4 separate regions of the Homo sapiens genome follow, and regions 1, 2 and 3 are each linked to region 4. Evidence: promoter capture Hi-C in human tissues and cell types (Jung and others, 2019). All regions are on one chromosome and are shown on one strand. Each heading gives the region's core, a stretch centred on a gene start or on the middle of the fragment in contact. The rest is flanking DNA. Distances are from core to core; before and after follow the strand shown. Region 1 overlaps CDC42BPB (CDC42 binding protein kinase beta). Region 2 overlaps WDR20 (WD repeat domain 20). Region 3 overlaps CDC42BPB (CDC42 binding protein kinase beta). Region 4 holds the start of RCOR1 (REST corepressor 1).

What was found. Contacts are between HindIII fragments. The study calls those that stand out against the background at their distance.
Region 1: a fragment that was not itself captured here is called in contact with the fragment with the promoter of RCOR1 in region 4 in 2 of the 25 tissues and cell types used here (lymphoblastoid cells and mesenchymal stem cells).
Region 2: a fragment that was not itself captured here is called in contact with the fragment with the promoter of RCOR1 in region 4 in 1 of the 25 tissues and cell types used here (dorsolateral prefrontal cortex).
Region 3: a contact is called between a fragment that was not itself captured here and the fragment with the promoter of RCOR1 in region 4, in 1 of the 25 tissues and cell types used here (dorsolateral prefrontal cortex).

Annotation. Positions count from the first base shown.
Region 1 is chr14:102,989,772-102,992,471 of GRCh38, forward strand. The region is part of intron 5 of CDC42BPB (CDC42 binding protein kinase beta); the gene reads right to left. Among named protein-coding and RNA genes, the nearest start is that of CDC42BPB, 66 kb to the right of the region's middle. The HindIII fragment of the contact is 4,337 bases long and covers 1-2,700 here.
Region 2 is chr14:102,182,418-102,185,117 of GRCh38, forward strand. All of the region lies in intron 1 of WDR20 (WD repeat domain 20), which reads left to right. Among named protein-coding and RNA genes, the nearest start is that of WDR20, 44 kb to the left of the region's middle. RefSeq lists enhancers at 1,925-2,426, 2,427-2,700. The HindIII fragment of the contact is 5,381 bases long and covers 1-2,700 here.
Region 3 is chr14:102,972,926-102,975,625 of GRCh38, forward strand. CDC42BPB (CDC42 binding protein kinase beta) reads right to left here. Exons shown (of 37, transcript NM_006035.4): 12 at 1,091-1,224. Among named protein-coding and RNA genes, the nearest start is that of AMN, 52 kb to the left of the region's middle. The HindIII fragment of the contact is 3,116 bases long and covers 1-2,700 here.
Region 4 is chr14:102,591,199-102,593,898 of GRCh38, forward strand. RCOR1 (REST corepressor 1) reads left to right here and starts at 1,451. Exons shown (of 12, transcript NM_015156.4): 1 at 1,451-1,989; 2 at 2,068-2,127. The coding sequence starts at 1,689. RefSeq lists an enhancer at 54-869 and silencers at 448-1,757, 1,818-2,427. The HindIII fragment of the contact is 11,930 bases long and covers 1-2,700 here.

The sequences.
Region 1 (2,700 bases), core at 37-2,536, 400 kb after region 4:
TCACTTGAACCCAGGAGGCAGAGGTTGCAGTGAGCCGAGATCGCACCACTGCGCGCCAGCCTGGGCAACAAAAGCGAAACTCTGTTTCAAAAAAAAAAAGAAAAAAAAAAGAATGAAGAGCTCCATGAATTGATATGGAATGATTTACAGGATACATCACTAAAGTTTTTAAAGGTATCACCTTTTGCTTAACAAAGGATAAACAAGAAAACGCCTGCATGGACGATAGCAGAAGACAGCAGACTGGCTACGGATCCTGGGTTGCCAGCGGAGGTGGGCAGGATAAAGAAGGGGCGACGCTTCTGAGTACAACTTCATGCAGTTTTGGAAGCACGCTAACGTCCTACGTACTCAAAGAATAAAACTCAATCAACAAAGGCGGAAGGGAAGTCTAAAATGGAAAACTGATTCAAACCAATGAATCCAACTGTATTTCAAATAAATAACAACACTGAAGGGGGAGATGGGGTTAAAACAAAACAAAACAAAACAAAACAAATCCAAGTGACTTATGAACACAGAACTTGAATTACTGCAGGTGAGGGGTGCAGTCCCAATGAGATGGGGGAGAACCGCAAACAAACCCGGAATGCCTGCGGGCAGGTTTGCTTCTGTGGTGTCCTGGGCAGAGCAATTCTAAAGCTTTTTTAGACACATCTCAGGACTGAGTGAGTGCACGTACTAACGGTGCTGGGAGTCACAGTTTCAGTAGGAGGAAGACAAAAGTCTGGAAAGGGAGGAAGTCAGGAAGTTAACTCATGATTCCTGAGTATGCACAGGTAGACGTGTGTGTCCATGAGTGTGTCTATACCTCTGTTACTACCTCTGTGCACTGAGGGGCCTAGAAGCAGGCAACCCCATAGTAATGCGCATGCCCAGCACCCAGAACTTGGTCTTCAAAGCCGCTCCCCACTAAAGGGCCTTGAGCTCTTCTGAGAAACAACGGAGTGGGGACAGAGAAGGTATAGGATGAGCCAGAAACTAAGGGCATCCTCAAAAAGTGAAGAGGCACAGCGCAAACACAGGAGTCGGCTAGAATGCCAAATATGGGCCAATTTCAGCACAAAAATAACTAAGATAGTGAATTAAAAACCACTGGGAGAAAGAAGGATCCATGTAGCCACACTGATCACAAACAGACCAATACACAGGGAGAAAGGGGTTGCTTCCTTAGAGGAGAAAGCCGGATGACGACTGGTCAGCATGGTGGGTCTGGAGTTTGTGAGTCAATCTGCAACCATGCAAAGACTGGTCTAGGCAAAATTCATTAATGGGTACTAAATCTCTGGAGGAAATTTTAAAGAGGAAGAGGATATTTGCATGGTCTTAAAAGTATCTCCCCACAGGGAAAAAACTATATAGCAGAAAAATCTAACAAAATCTTAACTGCGTGATGGGTTTATCACCACCAAGGGGCTGATGGATATTGTACACCTGTGGAAATGACACCCTGAGAAGGACACAATATAGCTATACACACACATTCCAAGAGGAAGGAACACATCATCTCAATCTATCAGAAGGAAACATCAGACCAAACCAAAGAAGTCTTCTACTGAAAAAGCAAGGGACACTGTATTCGCCAAACACATCAATGTTCTTCCAACATGCCAATGTCACAACAAAGGAAGGATGAGGAACTATTCTAGATTAAAAGAGATTAAAGAAGACATGACAATAAATGCAACATGTGATCCTGGACTGGATTCTGTACTGGAGGGAAGAAAATACTGTAAGAGATGCTCCTGGGTCAACTGCTAAAATCTGAGTAAAGAGGGTATGATTAAGCATGAGTAGTGTAAGTAAGAATTTTGGGGTAAATGCTCTTGGTACATGCAGCTTATTCTTAGATGGGTGAGGAAAAATCTGTACGTGTGTGTACACATGTGGAGAGGGAGGGGGATGTATATAATAGGAGCCAAAATATTAACAATACGTGAATCTGATTAAAAGTATATGGGTGCTTTTTGTACCGTTCTTGCAACCCTTGTATAAGACTGAAATTTTTTAAGTTTGAAATTATTTGAAACATTATTTAAAAAGAAAACTTTTAAAAGAATGCACATGTAATATGATTCCATATATATAGTATTTTAAAACAGGCAAAGCTGATTTATGCTTTCAGAGCCTCACTGTCTAACATGGTAGCCCCTAGCCACAGAGGGCTATTCAAACTCAAATTAATGTAAATTACATAAAATGAAGAATTTGGTTCTTTTGTTGCACCAGCCACGTTTTGAGTGCTCATGAGCCACATGTGGCTGGGGCTACCGTATTGAGCAGTGCACATCTAGAACATTCTGTCACTGTGGAAAGTTCTGCATAGCACTGTGGGGGGGATGAGGGGTGGTGACCCCTGGGGAGGGAGTGATGGGGGAGCCCCAAGGGGGCTTATCTGGGTGCTGCTGTGAGCGTGCAGTTTTGAACAATCCACTGAGTTGCACCCCTCGGTTTGGGAGCTTTACTGAATACCTGTGACATATCTCAGTAAGATTTACATAAAGAAGTCAACTGAAATGGACTTTAAAGTTACAAAAAGCCCTCCTATCCCAACTACAGATAACAGTGATTTAAAGGATGTTTTTGCTGGGACCCAGAAATAAAACAGCCACCAGTTATAAATGGCAGACACAGTACCTGCCATGCATAAATTGTCACAATTGACCCTCAGGCCAGCCAGTGTGGTGGGGTAGAGACGGT
Region 2 (2,700 bases), core at 35-2,534, 410 kb before region 4:
ACTGATGCCACAGAAAGATGAGTAATAGACTCCTGTGGTCTTAATTGGTGTGAAACTTTATGATTTGGCCTGTTTGGAATATATTATCATCTGTTGATGATATATCATTCCCATTCATGCATTTGCTCAGTGTTACAGTAAGCTTCCTTTTATTGTGAATTTTACTGTTCATCAAGTCACAGATTTTTCTGTGACCCTAATACCAAGCAATGACATGCTTTTAAACTACTAGAATAATTTTGAAATAGTTTTAGTAGTTTTTTTGGTTATTTTTTTCTATTAAAAAATTATATATAATATATGATTATTGACAAAAAGGCAAAAAATATTATCTAAATATTACCCCCTCTTTTAATGGTAGACACTTTTAATATTTTGGTGAATATCTTTTCAAACTGTTTTCTTTGCAAATATGTACATGTAAATAAATATATGGCCCAAACAGAATTAGACTTTTTTTATTCCATAAAATACATATATATACAGGTGGTGCATACCTGTAATATACAGGTGGTACATACCTGTAATCTCAGCTACTTGGGAGGCTGAGGCAGGGTAATCACATGAACCCAGGAGGTGGAGGTTGCAGGGAGCCGAGATTGCGCTACTGCACTCCAGCCTGGGCAACAGAGCTCTCCGTCTCAGAGAGAGAGAAAAAAAAAGAAAGTTGTGCCATGAACATTTTTTTTAGGTTATTTGAGGATATTCGACATATATGACAAATGACTAACAGCACAAGTGCCAAGTGAGTAGTTGCAGTGATGAACTAATGCTGTTGAACTTCCGATGAAGGCGAGATCAAAGCTTTTCCTCACACTAGTATTTGGAAGATCAGCTCTCTGTTACCCAAATTGATTTGAGGCTGTATTCTTCAGCTCACGCCTGGTTGGATCAGAGATTATTTGAATTACAGAAGCCAAGTCAAGCATTTTGGCCACTTGTTTTAGTAGCTGATCTCCATTAATGTTTAAGATATGTTTAATGTTCTCTCACTCTAGCTCTTTTGCTTCCTGTTTGAAACACAGCAGTGTACTATGTCCAAAATGCTGTCATATGATATACAATTACTGCTACACGTGTTGTTTATTGAAATTTTAGACATTACAGATTCAGTAGCTTGTTCTAGCTGACGCTGGGTGATTGAAAAGGGAGAAACAGCTAGATATGGTTAAAGGTGAAGTTGTAAGCATTATGAACCTTGGGCAGATCACCACCTCTTCCTGGGCCTCAGTTTCTCTGTAGGATGAGGAAATGGAAGTTTGTAGGCCCTCTGCACAACTGGGGACTTAGGGCCGTTTTCACTTAGGATGGGAACTCTTCTACCGATTGTTGCTTATGTTACTCAGCAACTTGAATTGGAAATTTAAAATCATTTATGTGCTCTGCTGAATATAATGAGCCCATGGATGGCCCAAAGGTTAGAACAACAACAGTGTAGTAGTTAGGCAGCACACAGGAATTACTCTCTGCTCTACAATGCTCTGTAATTTACCAGTGTTGTCTCAACACTTTCAGAAAGGCATAGAATTCTATCTTTAAAAAACATTTTTTTCTAAGAATTTGAAATCATCTTTTGCAGAAATGAATGCATCTTGCCTTTTCGTCAGTGTGAGATACTGGTATTCCCTTTAGAATGGGAATACGTATTCCTATACATATTTAACAGAAGGGTTCAATAAAAATAGGTCATTTGAATATGTCAGCATTTTAATGTGATGAGATCTGGTGTTAGTATGTGTGCAAATTGAATTTATCTTGATGTTTATTCATAGCTTTTCTTTAATGAAGAAATCAGTATTTCATTAGCCTAAGGAAGCCTCACAACAGCCATTTGTGGTGACTTGCCTTGCGATAGGAGATCTAACCTTCCGTGGAGTACAGCATCAGAGAATGAAGAGCTGGTAAAGATGTTGCAGTGTAGCTGTTTTTTAAGTTCATCTTTAAGAAGCTACTCTGAAGGAAGAGAAGTAGATTGTAATAGCTAGCAGTTTCTAAATGACAGGCTGCCTTAGGAAAAAGTGACATGTGAGAACAACAGAAGCTTGTTATTTCAGCAGATGCTTGACTGAGGGTGCTAGGCCAGGGAAGATGCTGCCACAGAATGTCCGCCCTCTGCTTGTTCCTGCTTTCCCCTGGTGGCCACCCTCTCCCCACCCGATGCAGAGCTCCAAAGGAGGGGCTTTTGCTGGCCCCTGGGAGAAGCCATCTGATGAGCAGCAAGCAATTCCAGAGATTGTCACTGTGAAATTTTTACTTAACGCATGTTACGCACTTTGTGACTGTGTGTCTCTTCTCATTTTGGGATGACATGAAGGTGATGTTCCACACGTCTTACATCTTGCTATTTGCTGACGTTTGACTTATTGTCTTGCCTGCCTCCCCTCTGTCTAATTCTCTGTGCCGCCTCTCAAAGCCTTGCTGCGGCTAAACGCAGCCCCTTGAACGTGGTTGGCCGGGGCTCATTCCAGGTCAGAGCCCATCAGAAGCGCGCTAGAGACAATGCACCAACGGTTGGTCTTTAGTGAAGGGGATGGGTTTGGAATGCCAAGCAAGTGTGGGCTGTACTAGTATGTTTGAGAATGAAGGAGGAATGGAAACTAAGAAAGAGAAGCTACTGTTTTGTTTTGGAAGATTATACTGGAAGGAAAACCTGCTGAAAGTGGGCTTCCACTGCTGCTGTCCTTCTGCAGGAAATTTAGG
Region 3 (2,700 bases), core at 30-2,529, 380 kb after region 4:
CAGTGAAGAACTGTATAAAAACAATCGCTGGACAGCCTGCCCTTCAATGCAGACTGATGTGCGGATACTGGCTGTCACTCTGCACTCACCACGCTGATGACCCTGACCTCCCTGCAGCCAATCTGGTCAACTATCTGGCAGTTCAGTCACTGTCACACCTGCTGGTCTGAGATGGAAGTGACAAGACCCTGAGCAAGCTGGCAGGGCAGCTCCCACACGTGAAGGGGAGGCCTCCCCAGGCCTCTCTGGGCCCGCTGGGAGGTACTATGACCCTGTCAAGCAATGAGATGCCATGTGCCCCACACTGCACTTCTAGACAAATCACTCACGTGGATGACCCACAGATTATCTTAAGAAACAATCTGGGTTTGATACCTGGCACATTTTAGAGAACAGATCACAAACTACAGGTTCAAGAATAACATGTATCAATGAATGTATTTTAGAAAACACGCATATAATTGTGTTAGTAACATGCTGACACCTGAGCATAAAAGTTTCCCATATATTACTAAAAATGAAATTTATAAACGAATTATGGGGGGAAATCACCCAGATTTTAACACAGGGTCTCTGCTGCAGTTCCCTGTCATTACTAAGGGTCCCCTTCTAAGAGCAGAGGCCTGGTGGAGAGAAGGGGAGGGCCTGGCTCGGGACGCAGCGTGTGTTGCCACAGCCACCATGCCCTATGCACAGCCACCATGCCCTGTGGACGGCCACCATGCCCTGTGCACGGCCACCATGCCCTATCGACATCTTTCCTCGCTTTAGAATGCAGTGGGGTGCTGCTTTCTCTGTGGGTCTGAAGTGGAGACTGGAGAGGCTGATTGCGAGGTGGATAACCGCTGGGGGCAAGGGGGTGGAAGGCACCTGCCACTGGGAGCCAAGCTCTGCCAGCCGACGCGGGGGCTGTGCAGCAGGCAGGCGTGGCAGGGGCCCCGGGGCCAGGCTTGGCCCTGGCGTCCTGCATGCAGCAGGGACAGCCCATGGGCAGGAGTCCCAAGAGGTCTTCCATCATCGGCATGAACGTGACCTTACAGAATTCTGCAAAGTCCCGTAAGCCTTTCTCACCCCAAACTGAGCCACCTACCTTGTGCAGCTCCTCCTTCTCCTGCCGGACCACGCGGTGCTGCTTCTCCAGCCCCCGCAGCCGCTGCGTGGAGTCCTCACGCTCTTGGCGAAGCGCCACTGTGTCCTCAAGCTGTCGCTCGAGCCTGTTTGAATCTGGACAAAAGAGGAAATAAACTCTGTTCCTTTATGTGCAATGACTATATGTAAACTTTATGTTAGCTGACTTACTGACAGGAAATTATTTAATAATTCACAACACTTTTTCATTCAGAGGTTTTTTTACTTACACACACACACACACACACACACACACACACACACACAGTGTCATAGGCACAGCTACCTGCATGCCTGTGCTGAACAGGCTCCCTAGACTTTACTCTGATCTGACAGCGATCTCCCCTGAGCACTGGGAGCCCTTGGGTGGCGCACACACTCGTCTGCTCAGTCCCTCTAACCTGTGTCACCCAGCACAGTGCCTGGCCCTTGTCCTTTCTCAGCGTGCAAGAAAAGTTTTAGTTAGTAAGTGACTCAATCAAAGAAGTCTGTTTTTGGATCAGGACAGTGGGGTTCCTGATAGGAAATGCAGAGAAGGTGAGATTCAAAGTGTGCTTTGGAGGTGAAGGTCAACTGCAGAGCCAACCTGTGTGAGGTTAAGGCTTAAAAGTGATTGGAGCCAGGCCAGGCGCAGCGGCTCACGCCTGTAATCCCAGCACTTCGGGAGGCCAAGGCAGGCGGATCACGAGGTCAGGAGATCGAGACCATCCTGGCTAACACAGTGAAATCCTGTCTCTATTTTGTAAAAATACAAAAAATTAGCCAGGCGTGGTGGGGGGCTACTTGGGAGGCTGAGACAGGAGAATGGCGTGAACCCAGGAGGCGGAGCTTGCAGTGAGCCGAGATCATGCCACTGCACTCCAGCCTGGGTGACAGAGTGAGACTCCGTCTCAAAAAACAAAAAAACAAAAAAACAAAAACTGATTGGAGCTTTTAGGGAACTTTGATAACCTAGGAACCGCCAAAAGAAAGTGGTGACAGCAGGTCTAGCACCTACAACACCAAGGAGCAGGCAGAGTCACTGATTAAGCTTTAGGAGGAAAGCAGCTCTAGGAACTGTCTGAAAGCCACAAAAAGGAAAACTGTAACAGAGAAGCAGAAAATAGCCAGAGAACGTACAGATAAAATATCAGGAACTGATTCTAGCTGGTGACTATAAAATAATATCATTAGAACTAAGCCAATTGGGGCTGGGCGCAGTGGCTCATGCTTGTAATTCCAGCACTTTGGGAAGCCAAGGCAGGCAGATCACCTGAGGTCAGGAGTTCGAGACCAGCCTGGCCAACATGGTGAAACCCTGTCTCTACTAAAAATACAAAATTAGCCGGGTGTGGTGGCACATGCCTGTAATCCCAGCTACTTGGGAGGCTGAGGCAAGAGAATCGCTTGAACCCAGGAGGTGGAGGTTTCAGTGAGCTGAGATCGCACCACTGCACTCCAGCCTGGGTGACAAAAGTGAAACTCCGTCTAAAAAAAAACAACTGACCAAAATTTGAGAACTCTAAATAAGCTTGCTAAAGCCTAAGCTTTTTTTCTGCTTTCCCACTTTATGAAAAGGACTCTGAAATTCCC
Region 4 (2,700 bases), core at 201-2,700:
GGCAGAAGTGAACGTGGTCTCTTCAATAAAGTTAATAATGGTTCATGCTGCAGAAAATGTTCAAGACAAAACCCTGCTTATTTACTCAGGCTTTAAAACCATAAAACTCCCAAATTCTCCCTGTAGCTATTTATATCCAGAGCTAGTCCCCAAATTAAGCTCAGGTTTGAAGTAACTTAAAAGAAAAATAGCCTTCCCTGCTTTAAAAAGATTTTCCGTATAGACCTCCACTGGTCTAATTACGAAGGGCGCGTAGTTTCAGGGTTGGCTGGGGGTAGGGCACCGGGACCTCCAAGGCAGTTACACTCCTCAGCCTCCTAACAGCTGTACGGCTGCCCGGTGGTCCCTCTCCAAGGCAGCGGCTCTCAGGCTAGCCTCAGCCTACCCCACCCGCCCGCACCCCGTGTTCTCCCTCGTGGGGGTGCCGGGGGGAGTAGGGAGGCGGGGCGGGCGGCAGGTCCGGAAAAGTGGCTGCCCTCGCCCCGAAAGAAGTTGACCCTCCTCCCGTGCCGAGAGCTTGGGATGAAAATAGCTTCTTCCTCTTTACCCTTCCTGGACCCCCGCCCCAGGACGACTGGGCCCCTTCATTCATCTTTCAGCGGCCACCCAGGCGGCTTGGGCGTCCCCACGCCGGGACTCTGTGCCCCGGGGACCCACGGGGACCCTCCCTTGGGCCTCTGAAGCCGCGGCGCACCCCGCACCCAAGCCACCCCGGGGGCCCCGGCCTCCCCCACCCAATTAGCGGGCAGCACCGCAGACCCGAGTCCCCACGCAGCTCGCGCCAGGGGAGGCGGCCGCCTGGGAAGCCCGTCCCCCGCGCCGCGGCCCCCGCCCCCGCCAGCCCCGCGTCCCCTGGGAAAGGCGGGGGCGCAGCGAGTTTCCCCCAATTAGTTTCCTCTTTGTATGGAGTCTTAGCGCGCCCGTACTCCTCCGCGCAGCGGAAAGTAGTCCCGGCCGGGCGCTCCGCGGCTTCCCAGCGCCAGACACATTTTACTTTGAGAAGTCGACGGGACTCTCAGCGGGGTCCTTCAGATGGGGGGCCAGAGGCTGCGGGAGGCGTGCGCGGGCAGCAAGGGCAGGGGCCGCGGCCAAGGGTAGGGGGCGGGGAGGGCCGCGAACTCCTCGCCGCTGCCTGGAGAGATGGATCATGGGGCGTAGGGAGATGGCAAACCTCAAACCACGTACGGCGGGCGATACGCGTCAACCGAACCTCGCCAACGGAAGCCCGGAGCCGCCCCTCCCCGCTCCCCCGCCCCGCCGCCCCGGACGGACGGGCGCGCGGAGCCAACCCCGCTGCCGCTGGCTGTCCAAATCCCACCAGAGCCAATGGGAGCGCGAGGGGGGGCGGAGCCATCTCGCGTCAGTTGGGCTGCGCGCCCCCCTCCCCCGGCGCCCCTGCAGGCCCCGCCCCTGCCTCCTCCCCTCTCCGCTCGCTGCTCCCGGAGTAGTTGGTGCCAGTGAAGTGAGGGCGGCGATGAGAGCGAAAGTTGCGCTCGGCTCGTCGCTGGGGGCTTGAAGCGGCTCCGCGCTCTGCCCGTTTGGGCCTCCCCCGACTCGGACTCGCGCCCGTGGGCTCCCGCCGCGCCCGCCCGGCCCCGCGCCGGCCCCGCGCCCCCTCCCCCGTCTCGGCGCCCCCTCCTCAGGAGCCGCGGGTCCCCGCCACTTTCGCACGGCCCCGGCCCCCGCCGATGCCGGCCATGGTGGAGAAGGGCCCCGAGGTCTCAGGGAAGCGGAGAGGGAGGAACAACGCGGCCGCCTCCGCCTCCGCCGCCGCCGCCTCCGCCGCCGCCTCGGCCGCCTGCGCCTCGCCAGCCGCCACTGCCGCCTCGGGCGCCGCCGCCTCCTCAGCCTCGGCCGCCGCCGCCTCAGCCGCCGCCGCCCCCAATAATGGCCAGAATAAAAGTTTGGCGGCGGCGGCGCCCAATGGCAACAGCAGCAGCAACTCCTGGGAGGAAGGCAGCTCGGGCTCGTCCAGCGACGAGGAGCACGGTAGGTGGCAGCCGCCCCCGCGGCCCCGGGCCCCGCGCCCCGCGCCGCGCTGACCGCCGTATTCTGCTTCCCCCGCAGGTGGCGGTGGCATGAGGGTCGGACCCCAGTACCAGGCGGTGGTGCCCGACTTCGACCCCGGTGAGTAGCGGCCCCGGCCGGCCGGCGGCGGGGATGAGCGGGAGCCCCGGGTCCCCGGCGAGCCCGAGGGGGCGGGAGCCCGCCGACAACTTTCTTTTTGTGCGTTCGCCCTGCCGTCCGTGGGGAGAACAGCAGGGCGAGGACGAGGAGGCGCACACGCACACGAGTGTTCTGCAAACGTGCCTCTGCACCCGGGGGAGGCCAGGTCGCCCCCAGCAGGGCCGGCGCCGCTGCCCCCTTGCGCCTCCGAGGACTGCGGGTGGCGTCGGAGGTGGCCACACCTGGCCTGGGGGCGCTGGGGGTCCCTGCGTCCAGGTGAGCTGCGCCTCGGCCAGGGGTAAGGGTGGCAGTGCCGGAGAGTTAGTGTCCTGCGAGCGCCCCGGACTTAGGAGGTCCCCAGAGACCCCTTTCTCGGAACCCTTCCCAAAGGCTGCTCCCCACGCCTTTGCTCCTCCTCTCAGCCTCTGGGCTCTTGCTGGCTCCTGACTGCCCTCCCATCCAGAAGGCGAGTAGAAGAACGACCCCCCAAAACCAGTCAATAAAAGAAGTGTGTTTTCCAGAGGGCGCCTGCCT